Regions from separate parts of the Homo sapiens genome. Here region 1 is linked to region 2. The links are contacts of gene promoters, found by promoter capture Hi-C in human tissues and cell types (Jung and others, 2019). All regions are on one chromosome and are shown on one strand. The core of a region is centred on a gene start or on the middle of the fragment in contact, and the rest is flanking DNA. Distances in the headings are between cores, read along the strand shown.

Region 1 (7,083 bases), core at 2,474-4,973, 210 kb after region 2:
CTGAATGAATAAAAATTGAAAGGAAAAAATTTAAAAAGACCCAATCGCACTGATCATTGAACACCAGTATACAATAACTTTAGGGTCATATGGATCATTGGTTTCACGATTACAGTAGGTCTGGTGCATGGCACTCTCAGATCTAGTAGAGGCTCTGATGTCAGTAGCAGGATGGAGGAGAGCTGGGCTTACAGCCTCTCAACTTGTTGGCCCTTATACCATCACTGCACTCATGTCCTTGCTCTGTGCAGAAGTAGAATCAGAAAAGCATCAGGCACCTTCATGGTATAAATTGTGTCTATGGGTGCAGTGAATAAGCAAAAATCAGAAGCAGACCGGAGGGACTTATAAAAATAGGTACAGGGTCACAATGGGTGCCTATATGTAGCCTGTGACAGATAAGAAGCTGACAGTGAGACAAACAAAAAACTGAGGCTAGAGCCTCATTCCTCTGACTCCTAATCCAGTGTTCTCTCCATGCTCTCCCACTGTCTTCAGAATTGAGTAGAAATGTGATCCCCTCCTGAATCCTGTTTTTTGCCTCTTACTCTCCCATAATTTGGAAATTTCCTTGTCCAGTGGTTTATATTCTTTTCTAGAAAAACTAAAACTGGGTGGAGTGTGGTGGCTCACACCTATAATCCCAGCACTTTGGGAGGCTGAAGCGGAAGGATTGCTTGAGGCCAGGAGTTCAAGACCAGCCTGGGCAATGTAGTGAGACTCCTTCTCTACAACAAAGTGTTAAAAAATTAGCCAGGCATGGTGGAGTATGCCTGTAGTCCCAGATACTCTGGAGGCTGAAGCAGGAGGATCACTTGAGCCCAGGAGTTCAAGGCTGCAGTGAGCTTCCACCGCACTCCAGCCCGGGTGATAGAGCAAGACCCTGTGTCTTAAAAAAAAATTAAGACAGTATTTAGACTTATCAGTTAGATTGTTTTATTTAAATCCTTCTAACAATTTAGGCAATTCTACATTAATTTTCATCAAAATTTATCCAGTCAAAAAAATTTCATGAATACTCCAGATGTAAGAGAGTCACAATTTTCTACGATAAATCAGACATCTTATTTCTAGGGTGATTGAGGGAGGTGGAAAGCGCAGGAGGAAGCCAGTGAAGAGGACAATGGAATGCTGAGTCAATGACATTGACTTGTGTTCCTATCTGCCATCTTGGGTGTGGGTCTTTATATGTGGTTACAGATCCTTTAGTTTGAGGGAGGTGAGGTAGAGAAATAGGATGCCAGCAGGTAGGAGGCCGATGTCAGTCCTCCCAGCAAAGCTGTGTCATTTATCTGAATGGAAATGAGAAAATAAATATGTACTCAATAAGTCACATTTCCCAGAAATGTGATTGAGATTCTCAAAAAATAGACTCAGATTCTTGGCTGTCTGTTTAACCAATCACGATATGGGATTTGAGAAATAAAATTTAGGGAATTTTAAGAGACATGAAAGCTACTAGGTCAGGGAAAATAAAAAGCTTAAATAACTATTTTTATTGTCCAGATCCTCTACTGTAATAGATTAACTATGTTCAATAAATTTCTAGACAAAATTGACTTGTGTCTGTGAGTGTGTTCTGGGAAGAGAGAAGAGTTAAACATAAGGCAATCCATCAGATAATCCTCAATCAGCCTACACAGTTGGTACAGCGAGCTCTGGGCTAGAAGATCCAGGCTGAGGAGGAGGATGGAGAAAGATTGAGATGTAGAGCCTCTGGGTTGAGAGGGACCTCTGAAATGAACTCATCTAGACTGCTGCCATGGAGATGGTGCTCTACAGTAGCCCTGTCAATCGCTGGCTGGCTTCTGCCTAGGTAAGTCTGCCTTGAATTCATGGTGGTATGTTATGTTACAGTGGTATCCATCTTGGTACTTTTGTCCTCTGCAATGGTGAGTGGTGGGGAGTTTGGGAAATACTACCTCTTCTAAGAGGTTTGTGTAAACCTTAATGGTGTCCTGGTACCACCCTGTGAATCCTTCTTTGTAACTAATGTTTTCCACCCCAGAGCCTCCACATTCATGAGGGATGCCAAAAATCGAAGAAGTTCTTCGTAGATGTACAGCCCAGCACATTCACAACTGAGCATTGTTGCCTGACAATTCATTTATTCAACAATGAATGTTTGAGTGCCATGCATGGTTTTGGGTATCCACTTGTGAGCAAGATGACCTAGGTCCCTGCTCTCACTTGGTGGAGGGGTAGGGAAAGCAGGTAGGTACGGAGAAGGAAAGAAGATAGAACTCTATGCCCTGCAAGCTACTGCTAGAAAACTAACACTTCTGTCTTCCCTCGGGACTCTCCTAGGCCCTTTCACCACTTCTCACCTCTCACCCACATTCTGCACTCCCAGCTAAAGCAGCCAAAGGACTATTTGATTTGGCAGAGCTTTCAGGCACAAAGCCCTATGTTCCCTCTGGCCCAAAGCCACTACTCTGAAGGCTGAAAACTGCCCTTTGGCTCAGGTTGCTGTCCAGTCACAGCCTCACAGATAATTTGTGCTGAACCTTGAGGTGAGGGCAGAGGCCACTTCTTTAAATACTTTGTCTTCTCTACTGCCTTACATTTGAAAAGCACAGGTTGGATCAATAAGTATTAAACGTATAGCGTATTACTCCTTTGAAGCCTCCCTGCTTGACTCCTCCCTTTCCTGCCTTCTCATTCCCTACTTTATTGCATCACAGATACGTAATTTATTACCAAGGATCTTTCATAATTCCCCACCCCTGCCTCTTTCTTCTCTTGCCCACACTGTGTGACTTAACAGAGTCAACAATACATATAATTCCACCAGCAACAAAGAAAATAAGTTTTGTTTTCCTATTGTCTGTTTTCATGAAGAGGCCCTTCTTAGTTAATCTGAAAGCTATGGCTTATACCATAGTCCTCCATCATATCTAAAGCCAGGAACTAGAACTTGGGCTTGTGCTTGAGTCCTGGGTAAAGAAGGGTTGAGTGGTGCTAATTCTTGGCTGTCTGGGTGCTCTTGATTAGTGATAGAATCCTAGTCAACACTGTCGCTTATCCAGACCCAGGAGAATAAAAATCTACTTGGCTCTCCTACTCTTCATTCTGGTAGCATCTTAGGCCAGGTAAAGTTCAATAAATTTTTTTGAATTCTAAGAAGTGGGAATTCCTCCCTCAACTCAAAGGCTATATTGTCAAAAACTCAACTCCCGGCTCTGTCGCTTCTTCACTGAGGGCAATTTATCTCCATAATCAAAGATGAATACATTCAGATGAACTCTTCTGTGTGGGTTTAAATTTTACTGTTCAGCATTCAGTCTTGCTAGTAAATAAGAAAAGATGAGAGAAATGGATTGAAAACTCCCACAAGACCCTCTATGGAAAAGGAGCCAAAAGATTGCAGAGGTATATAGAACTTTAGAGCTTTTGAGTTTAATGATGTCTATCCCTATACCTTCTTTCTGGAAAGCAGATTTTTGTGAATTGAGGGCAGGAACATTACAGAACTGATGCTTCATGGCTCTGGAATACTAAGTCCTCTGAGCCTGGATCTCCTTCAGCTCTGCCACCTACCTCCTTGTTTGCTAAATGTCCTTAGAGAAGTTAGGATATGCCTGGGGAACCCTGGGTCATATAACCATGACAACTGGCTGACCCTGTTGTCTCTCCCTCTCTGCCCTCCTCTAGCTGGGAGGTGGAAGCAGCATTGCCCAAGCCTCCCAGGAGTGACAGGAATTGTTTCTGCCTGAGGAGACACTCTGCAGCCTGGGCTCTGTGAGACTGAGGTGGCGGTCAGCCGGAGTGAGTGTTGGGGTCCTGGGGCACCTGCCTTACATGGCTTGTTTATGAACATTAAAGGGAAGAAGTTGAAGGTAAGGGCCTCTTGGGGATTTTGCTGGGGATGAAAAACTCTGCAGGGAAACTACTGAGGGAGAGATTCTGGTATAGATACCAGAATCTAGAAATAGAGGAATTGGATAGGCACAGTGGATCATGCCTTTAATCCCAGCACTGCAGGTGGCCAAGGCAGGTGGATCACTTGAGCCCAGGAGTTCAAGAACAACCTGGGCAACACAGTGGGATCCTGTCTCTATAAAAAAAGAGAAAAAATTAGCCCTGCATTGTGGTGCATGCCTGTAGTCCCAGCTACATGAGAGGCTGAGGTGGGAGGGTACCTTGATCCCAGGAGGTCAAGGCTGCATTGAGCCATGATCGTGCCACCACATTCCATCCTGGGCAACAGATTGAGACCCTGTCTCAAAAAACAGATAGGGAGAGGGGGAGAGGGACAGACAGAGAGAAAGAGAGAAATAGAGGAATTAACCCAGAGCCTTTTCAAAGATGAAACCTTTAACTTGTTTATTTATTTTTTTAGAGATGGGCATCTCACTGTATTGCCGAGGCTGATCTCAAACTCCTGGGCTCAAGCAATTCTCCCATGTCAGCCTCAGTAGCTGGGATTACAGGTGCTTGCCAGTGCACCCAGCTTGAAACTTCTTGTTTTAGTCTCTTTTGGACCCTCATTTAAGAGCCTTAAGATTTTATCTAAAACTTTTTATCTCTTATGGCTACCTGCATTTTTTATTTCCTAACCTGAACTCCTTTTTTTTTTTGAGACAGAGTCTCCCTCTGTCACCCAGGCTGGAGTGCAGTGGCAGGATCTCAGCTCACTGCAACCTCCACCTCTCAGGCTCAAGCGATCCTCCTGCCTCAGCCTCCCAAGTAGCTGGGATTACAGCTGCCCACCACCACGTCTGGCTAATTTTTGTATTTTTAGCAGAGACGGAGTTTCACCATGTTGCCCAGGCTGGTCTTGAACTCCTGAACTCAGGTGATCTGCCTGCCTTGGACTCCCAAAGTGCCGGGATTACAGGCCTGAGCCACCGCGCCTGGCCTCTTAACCTGAACTCTTATAGGAAACATTATTCTTGGCCGGGCATGGTGGCTCTTGCCTGTAATCACAGCACTTTGGGAGGCCAAGGTGGGCAGATCACTTGAGGCCAGGAGTTCGAGACCAGCCTGGCCAACATGATGAAACCCCATCTCTACTAAAAATACAAAAATTAGCCAGTGTGGTGGTTCATGCCTGTAATCCCAGCACTTTGGGAGGTCTAGGCAGGTGGATCACTTGAGGTCAGGAGTTCGACACCAGCCTAGCCAACATGGTGAAACCCCATCTCTACTAAACAGAAAAAAAAAAAAAAACTAGCCGGGCGTGGTGGTGGGCGCCTGTAATCCCAGCTACTTGGGAGGCTGAGGCAGGAGAATCCCTTGAACCCGGGAGGCGGAGGTTGTAGTGAGCCGAGATTGTGCAACTACACTCCAGCCTGGGCAACAGAGCAAGAATCCATCTCAAAAAAAAAAAAAAAGAAAGAAAGAAAAGAAAAAGAAAGAAACATCAGTCTTGACAAGTAAGCTATGGAGCAACTCATTGCTATGGGACCCTAAGGAGTGGGGCTATTGTGTGTGATATTCACCCTCCAACCTAATGCCTTCTGTTCAGGGCAAATGGGCCCCCAGGCAGCCTGGGCCTAGTTGGTGGCCATGAGAGGTAGGGAAGTGACCCAGTGGAGCTCAAGCCTGAGGGCTTCTGATGGGACCTGGGACTCTGTTTTGCAGCTTGAGGAGCGAGGATGGCAGTCAACAAAGGCCTCACCTTGCTGGATGGAGACCTCCCTGTAAGTAACTTGGGCTCATCTGTGACAGGGGATGGACAACTGAGGGAGGAGGAAGAAGCAGGGAGGGGAGATGCAGGGGACTTAGAGCAAGATATTCCCAGATTATAATCCTAGTTCATTGACTACCATGGCTTAGTTATTCTTGCCCTCACCACCTTTTGTAGGGGGCAGTTGGAGGATCTGGGAGGGGAAAAAAAGATGCCTATTAAAAATTAAGCACCTTGAAAAAAAGGGACAGAAATCCTGGCTTAGGGACGGGGGGAGTGGAGAGGAAGGAAACTACTGTTTAAACCCTGACGCAGAAGCCCATGCTCTGTCCACCACCCAGCTGGATGTGCATTCAGTGCAGAGCCACTGTATTCTGTGTCTCCAGCATCATTCATAACGGCAAATGTCACCTGTCGGAGTTAGACGGTGCACAGCCTGTGCTGCTGTGTGGGGGGAAGGGTGGGATATTCCATGTGTCTGGTGTTCTATCTCTGACCTGGTTTTCACTGTGACTTGAAGTGATTTGATACTTTTAGGGATGCTTGATGGCTCCTGGCAAGGCATCTCAGATTTGGGCACAGTTCGGATAGTGAAACTTAAAAATTATGAACCTGTGCAATATCCACCTTGCCCAAGTTACGCTTTTACTAACTCCTGCACTAGGAATCACTTTGTTTTGTATTGAATCATAGAACAGAGAGAGGCGTAAAATGGTCAAGTACATGGTTAAGCCATTCTAACAGACGGTGGTTTATTCCCTTCCCAGGATCTCTTTCCTCCTTCGGTTTTGTGTAAAACAACCTCTGAAGCCTCGTCCAAAATGTTAAAAAGAATGTTTTCTTGTTTATAGTCATAGTCTATTTCTAGTTCAAATTTCAAATTCACCTGCAGGATAAAAAACTAAGATATTGGCCAGGTGCAGTGGCTCACGCCTGTAATCCCAGCACTTTGGGAGGCCAAGGCGGGCGGTTCACAAGGTCAGGAGATCAAGACCATCCTGGCTAACACAGTGAAACCCCATCTCTACTAAAAATACAAAAAATCAGCGGGGTATGGTGGCGGGCGCCTGTAGTCCCAGCTACTTGGGAGACTGAGGCAGGAGAATGGCATGAACCCAGGAGGCAGAGCTTGCAGTGAGCTGAGATCGCGCCACTGCACTCCAGCCTGGGAGACAGCGAGATTCCATCTCAAAAAAACAAACAAACAAACAACAAAAAAAAACTAAGATATTGTGGGCTGCTCTGTCTTAGTGTACATGTAGGTGTCATTGATGGGGGTCTTTGAACTCTGCCTCCTACTAACAGAACAGGTCAGGTCTTCACTTTGCGAGCAAAACCATGCCACAGTGTCATATTCAAAGCTACAGAGAGCCTGAGCATCGGAATCTGACCTGGGTTTTTTTTTCTTTTTACTTTTGATATGGAGAATTCTCAACATTCATAAGAATAGA
Region 2 (7,016 bases), core at 2,087-4,586:
TATTTTTAGTAGAGACGGGGTTTCACCATGTCAGCCAGGCTTTTCTTGAACTTCTGATCTCAAGTGATCCTCACTCCTCAGCCTCCCAAATTGCTGGGATTACAGGCGTGAGCCACCACGCCCACCTGTAACCATTATTTTTAAGATTGCTACCATTGGATAGTTCTGTCATGGTCCAACTTTTGGATATTTAAAATTGATCCCTGTGTGGCTAACAGAATTAATGTTTCCAAAAATGTTGAAAATTATATAGTTCTCTTAATTCCCCACCTCTAACTATATTTTTGGGTTATTTCTTTAGGAACAGATGCCCAGGAGTCATATTACTGAGAATCTAGAAATCTTTTGCAAAGTTCTTGTTATATTGCCAAATTGCTTCCCAAAAGGGTTGTTCTAAACCATAATTTCACCAGCAATGTAGGGGAGAACCATTTTTATGCTGCCCTTGTGAGAATTGGGTATGAAAACATTTTTAAAATGATTTTTGATGAGGTGAAAATAATATTTGAATATATTTTAATTTGCCTTTCCCCCACTTATAGTGAGCTTAAACATTTTTTCCTTTTCCTAGCTGTATTTCTCCCTTTGTTATTCGTTCTTTCGTCCATTTATCTACTGGGGAGATGGGGAGTGTTATCTTTTTAGTTTATCAGTTATTTGCATTTTAAATATAACCATTTGCCATATTTTAACAACGATTTTTCCATTAAATAATTCTTTTTATAAAAAAACTTTATATATCTGTTGATGTTTTGTGATTTTTATTGCTTCTAAGCTAATACAGATTTTTGGATCTTATTCAATTTCGCTTTCTTCTGTTTAGGTTATTATCTGGTTTTATACCTAACTACTTATTTTCAAATTGCTAACCAGTTATCCTAATAGTATTTACTGAATTCCTTCCCACTCCTACATCACATATTAAAATTATTTTATGCCTAAATTATTTATAATATTTCAGTTATTCTTCCTATAATTACAATTTGAACCATCAAAGTAGGTTTTCATAGTTGGCAGAGCTAGTTCTTCTTCATAATTCTGTTTCAGAATTTTCTTTGATATTCTTCCTCAACATTTTAAACATTTTGTCAAGTTTCAGTGCAACTGACTTTTGGTTTTTATTTATTTAAAAACTGGGCCATGCCGGGCGCAGTGGCTCACGCCTGTAATCCCAGCACTTCGGGAGACTGAGATGGGTGAATCACTTGAGGTCAGGAGTTTGAGACCAGACTGGCCAATGTGGTGAAACCCCATCTCTACTAAAAATACAAAAATTTGCTGGGCATGGTGGCATGTGCCTGTAATCCCAGCTACTGGGGAGGCTGAAGCAGGAGAATTGTTTGAACCCGGGAGACGGAGGTTGCAGTGAGCCAAGATTGTGCCACTGCACTCCAGCCTGGGCAACAGAGTGAGACTCCATCTCAAACAAACAAACAAACAAACAAACAAAAAACTGGACTAGGCGTGGTGGCGGTTTGGGAGACTGAGGCTGGAGGATTGCCTGAGGCCAGCAGTTTGAGGTTACAGTGAGGTATGACTGTGCCACTGCACTCCAACCTGGGTAAGACCCTATCTCTGAAAAACAAACAAGCAAACCCCAGAACTCTGGCTGCAAAAGTAGTACATATTTCTTTGAAGGAAAAAAAGGAAAACTTGATAATCCTACCACCCAAAGATGTTTTTAAATCACTTATGTGGTACTCAGTTATGTGCCATGCACTGTCCAAGTGCTTACAAATATTATACTAACTCCCTTTGTGTTTATAACAACTGTCTGAAGTCAGTAGACTCATTTTCCAGTTTTCCAGTTTAGGAAACTGATATTACACCTTTTCTACAGATGGGGAAACTTGCCCAGGGTGCCCAGGCAGTCCGCAGAACCATGCTTTGAATCAGGGCAGTGTGGTTCCAGGGTCCTGTACAGATCAAACACCCTGACTCTGCCATTCCATCAGATACATGATTCATATTTTGGTGTATTTGCCTCCAATCTTGAGCAAAGTGGGTTGTCCCTGTACATACTTTGTGTAATCTTTTAGCTTAACAGGTGTCATGAACACTTCCGTATCATAAATCTTTCCCAGCATGATTTTTATTATCTATTTAATATTTCTCATATTCAATGTAGAACAATGCACTTAACCAATTTCTCATTTTTGTAATAATTTTCTTCCCATTTTCCCCTGTAATAACACTGCTGAGATATATATTTTTTTCTTCTTTTTTTTACTGTTCTGAAGATACTCTGGCAGAAATGTATGTTCCTCAGGCTAAATCTTTTCACACATCCACAATCATTTTATCATAAATTCTAGAGCTGGAAACGCTGAGTCTAATGTTTTATATATATATATATATATGTTATATATCTGTCACCCAGGCTGGAGTGCAGTGTGGTGTGATCTCAGCTCACTGCAACCTCCGCCTCCCGGGTTCAAGCCATTCTCCTGCCTCAGTCTCCCAAGTATCTGGGACTACAGGCGCGCGCCACCACAACCGGCTAATTTTTGTAATTTTAGTAGAGGCGGGGTTTCACCTTGTTGGCCAGGCTGGTCTCGAACTGCTGACCTCAAGTGAGCCGCCCGCCTCGGCCTCCCAAAGTGCTGGGATTACAGGCGTGAGCCACCGCGCCCGGACTGTTATATATTTTAAAGGCTTCTGATCCATATCGCCAAACAGTCCTCTGGATCGATTTGCATCTGTATCCGCTGCTCCATCTGCAGTATACGGACATGCTCCACTTCACCCACACTGGGTCATTAAAAGAACAAACAAAAATAAGAACTTGATCGATTTGGGATTTTAAATGGAAATGCACTAAAAATTCCTTAATTCCACCATTCACCGTCTACCATAGAGGAACAGCCCATCTGCACGGAGAGACAGCTACGTAATTCACTGCAGCATTATAATACTGAAAAATTAAAATGAACGAAATGTTCCATAACCGACGAACGGCCGAATGACCGGCGTCTCCACTCCGCGGAACGTTCTGCGAGCGCTAAGGGGATGGCGGGAGTGCATGATTTGGAGCGGGCGGTGAGAAAAGCAAGCTCCCGCCGCCTCTCCGTTTTGGCAACCCGGCTGACGGTCGTTTCGGCTTCTGGGGCCAGCCGTCGGTCTGGGCGAGGGACATAGATCCGGATTCGCATCCTGACTGGCCAACCAACGCTGGCCGAGGTGACCACTCTCCTCGGCATCCGCACCTGCCCTCCAAGGCGTCAGAGAGGCCGGACCCTTGGGTGCTAGGGCTCGTGAGCGCCGGGGCCAAGTTTCCGAGTGCCGCTCTCAGCAGCGCACCAACCGGAAGTGATCGTGTTGTGGCGGAAGGAGGAGCTTTCTGGGAGTAGCCGGTGCTGAGAGAACCGTGGCTGGCAAAGATGATTCAGGCGATTCTGGTTTTCAACAACCATGGGAAGCCACGGCTAGTCCGCTTCTACCAGCGTTTCGTGAGTGCGGCCCGGCTTCACCACGCCCCTTCAGGGCGCCCACTATGTCTTCCCTCCTCTTTGGCCTCTCGGCGCCCGGGGGCACCGCTCTTTGGTCACCTGGGGCTCCTGCACCGAGCATGACCCTCGCCCTACTTAAGCATTTAATCTAGGCGCAGGCTGGTGCCAGGCCTTCTGTCTCCCGCCCTACTGCCCCGCTCTCGCTGACCCTTTTCTTGATCCTGGCATTTCTGTGCCATTTTGTGACATTTTCCCGTGGGTCTCTGGGAACGAGATAGAAGCGACAGTGGGGAGTGTGCCTCGATGAGAACTTGAGTGATTGAAGTCACATTCTGTCATCTTTTTGGTTGTTGACCACAGTTTCATGAGGAAGAAATATTAAGTTTCTGAAAGTTTTTGTTATAGCCAGAACTGGAAAAGTTCTTTTTTTTTTGGAATTATTTTGCTTCAGTGTTGGCTGGGACTTTCCAGAGACTAGATACCCTTCACTCTTAGGGTTGAAGAAAATCAGTTTAAAAGTGGAAAAATGATGAGAAATTATAAATGCTGCCGCATAAGGGCTCAATAAGTGATTACGTAAATTTGAATTTTCCCAACACGTTCCTTTGCAAACACATAAACATCAGTATTTGCTTCCTGTCTTCGAAGATTATATTTCTTCATGGCAGGGTTTCAAAATGTTACATAATTGGGGGACTGGTGGAACTGAAGAGGGGAAAGAGCCAGAAAACGTGTTCAGGCTTCAGCTCCACCTTTTCTACTCTTGCGTCTGTTGACAAGTTAATAAACCCTTTTCAGACTTTTATTGTCTTTTGTCAATTAGAAATGAAAAAATAATTTTACTCCTTCATAAGATTTTTAAAGCTAGATTACATTTTATTAAGTAGATTACATCGAGGTAAAAATATGAGTATTCAGGCCGGGCGCGGTGGCTCACGCCTGTAATCCCAGCACTTTGGGAGGCCGAGGCGGGCGGATCACGAGGTCAGGAGATGGAGACCATCCTGGCTAACACGGTGAAACCCCGTCTCTACTAAAAATACAAAAAATTAGCCAAGCGCGGTGGCGGGCACCTCCAAGTCCCAGCTACTCAGGAGGCTGAGGCAGGAGAATGGCGTGAGCCCGGGAGGCGGAGCTTGCAGTGAGCCAAGATAGCGCCACTGCACTCCAGCCTGGGCGAAAGAGCGAGACTCCATCACACACACACACAAAAAAGTATATATATATATGTATGTATATGAGTATTCAGCGTAACTATTTGTATTTGCATTTGTGTGTATGCAAATTTCCCCCCTAGTTTTTTTCTAACAGGGTTACTGAGATAAAACTAACATGCCATACTGTTTACTTATTTATTTTATGTTATTTACTTATAGAGACGGGGTCTTTCTATGTTGCCCAGGCTGGTCTTGAACTCCTGGGCTCAAGCAATCCACCGGACTCAGCCTCCCAAAGTGCTGGGATTACAGGCATGAGCCACTGTGTCCGGCCCCAGTTTACTTATTTAAAGGGGACAATTCAGTGTTTTTTAGCATGTTCACAGAAGCTGTGTAACCATCACCACAATCAATTTTAGATCATTTTCATCACCCCAAAAAGAAACCTCTGCCCATTAGCAGTCACTCCCTATTTCTCCATGACTCTCCCAGCCCCAGAGAGTTTCTTTCCCTCTAAATTTGCCAGTTCCAGAATGGCAAATGGAATTTGCCTATTCCGTTGCCTATAAATGGAATCATAAATAAGTGGTTTTTTGTGTGTCTGCCATGTTTCATGTAGTATAATGTTTTCAAGATTCATCCATGTTGTAGCATGTATCTGATGTTCTTCATTTCTTTTATTGCTGAATAATATTCCATTATATGGATATGCCATATTTTGATTGTCAATTTATAAGTTGATATTTCTGCTTTTTGGCTCTTCTAATTAATGCTGCTATGAACATTCTTGTGCAAGTTTTTATGTGGACTTATGACTTCATTTCTCTTGGTTATATACCTAGGAGTAGAATTGCTGGATCATATGGTAACTGTGGTGAACATTTTGAGAAACTGCAAACTATTTGACAAATTTTCCAAGTGGCTGCACCATTTTACATTTCCATCAGCAATGTATAATGATTCCAGTTTCTTCACATCCCTGCCATTCGTTATTTATTTATTTATTTTTGGTTAAAGACATTTTAGTGGGTGTAAAGTGGTATCTCACTGTGGCTTTTTTTTTTCCCTCCGAGACTGAATCTCACTCTATCTCCCAGGCTGCAGTGGCGTGATCTCGGTTCACTGTAACCTCTGCCTCCCGGGTTCAAGTGATTCTCCTGCCTCAGTCTCCTGAGTAGCTAGGATTACAGGTGCCCACGACCATGCCTGGCTAATTTTTGTATTTTTAGTAGAGATGGGGTTTCGCTGTGTTGGCCAGGCTGGTCTCGAACTCCTGACCACAAGTAATCTGCCCGTCTTGGCCTCCCAAAGTGCAGGGATTACAGGCGTGAGCCACCGCACCCAGCTCATTGTGGTTTTGATTTCAGTTTCCAAAATGACTAATGATGTTGAGCATCTTTTCATGTGCTTATTGCCCATTCGTGTATCTTTGGATCATAGGATTTTTATAAGACCTCATGAGCTCATGGATGAAAGTACCTTGAAAACTACAGAGTACTAAAAAGATATGAGGGGTTATTAAAATCACTGAGGCATGTAAGCAATTGGTAGTTTACCTTTTTATTGAACTAGAAATTAGGTAGCCTCATCATTTCGTACCACTTCCCCACTGCTGCCACTTCCCCCAGAGTCAGATAAAAGGCTTTAGTTCAAAAGATGTCTTTGTCAGTTTTAAAAAGTGCTGATGCTTAGCATGTTTTGTATTTTGCATATATAGAGTTCGTCTCCTACAGCATCCTGTCATCTGTGAGCTTTGTTTGTTCTTTAAATGGAAATGAGGAAAATAGTGATTAATTTACTCAAATTTGTAGTGACCAATGATTAGCAAGTTTTCATTCAGTCAGTAAATACTGTGAGCCATTCCATACCCATGTGAGTCAAAGTAATTTCCCCACAATTACGTTTTCCCTTTTTTCCCCTCTCTGTTTCTTTTAAATAACCATTTCAAAGCTAAATTCAGGGCTATAGAAAGAAAGGGATTAAAATTACTTGAACCTATTTTCTAACTCTTGGGGCAAGTCCAATTTGAAGGTTTTCTTATGATTCGTTACTCAAAGTGTGGTCCCCAGACCAGCAGAAATGTTATTGCCTGGGTGCTTACTAGACTTGCATCTCAGGACTTAACCTATACCTGCTAAATCCGAATCTGTATTTTAACAGCATTCACAGCTGATTCATTGCAAATGAAGATTTGAGAAGCAATGCTCTAGAGCTTTAAGTTATTATCTGTCTTAATTGCTGGTTTCTCCCTCTCTTACCCTTTTAACCATACTTCTTCTGAAACTCATATGTATAATTAGAAATCAAAGGTGAGTTATCAAAGTGATTTCATCAGAGTTGAGCTTTCTTATGCACGTAGTAAGTGAAAAAATAAGGCCAGACATGGTGGCTCACACCTGTAATCCCAGCA

Evidence for each region. Contacts are between HindIII fragments. The study calls those that stand out against the background at their distance.
Region 1: a contact is called between the fragment with the promoter of PLIN1 here and the fragment with the promoter of AP3S2 in region 2, in 8 of the 25 tissues and cell types used here (adrenal gland, bladder, heart left ventricle and 5 more).

What each region holds. Positions count from the first base shown.
Region 1 is chr15:89,676,007-89,683,089 of GRCh38, reverse strand. PLIN1 (perilipin 1) reads left to right here and starts at 3,723. Exons shown (of 9, transcript NM_002666.5): 1 at 3,723-3,839; 2 at 5,587-5,645. The coding sequence starts at 5,601. It overlaps PEX11A (peroxisomal biogenesis factor 11 alpha), which reads left to right. Exons shown (of 3, transcript NM_003847.3): 3 at 1-1,555. The HindIII fragment of the contact is 12,360 bases long and covers 1-7,083 here.
Region 2 is chr15:89,890,314-89,897,329 of GRCh38, reverse strand. It overlaps AP3S2 (adaptor related protein complex 3 subunit sigma 2), which reads left to right and starts at 3,336. Exons shown (of 6, transcript NM_005829.5): 1 at 3,336-3,449. The coding sequence starts at 3,381. The region is part of intron 5 of ARPIN-AP3S2 (ARPIN-AP3S2 readthrough); the gene reads left to right. ARPIN (actin related protein 2/3 complex inhibitor) reads left to right here. Exons shown (of 6, transcript NM_182616.4): 6 at 1-2,324. RefSeq lists enhancers at 2,054-2,801, 3,156-3,305, 4,298-5,047. The HindIII fragment of the contact is 43,728 bases long and covers 1-7,016 here.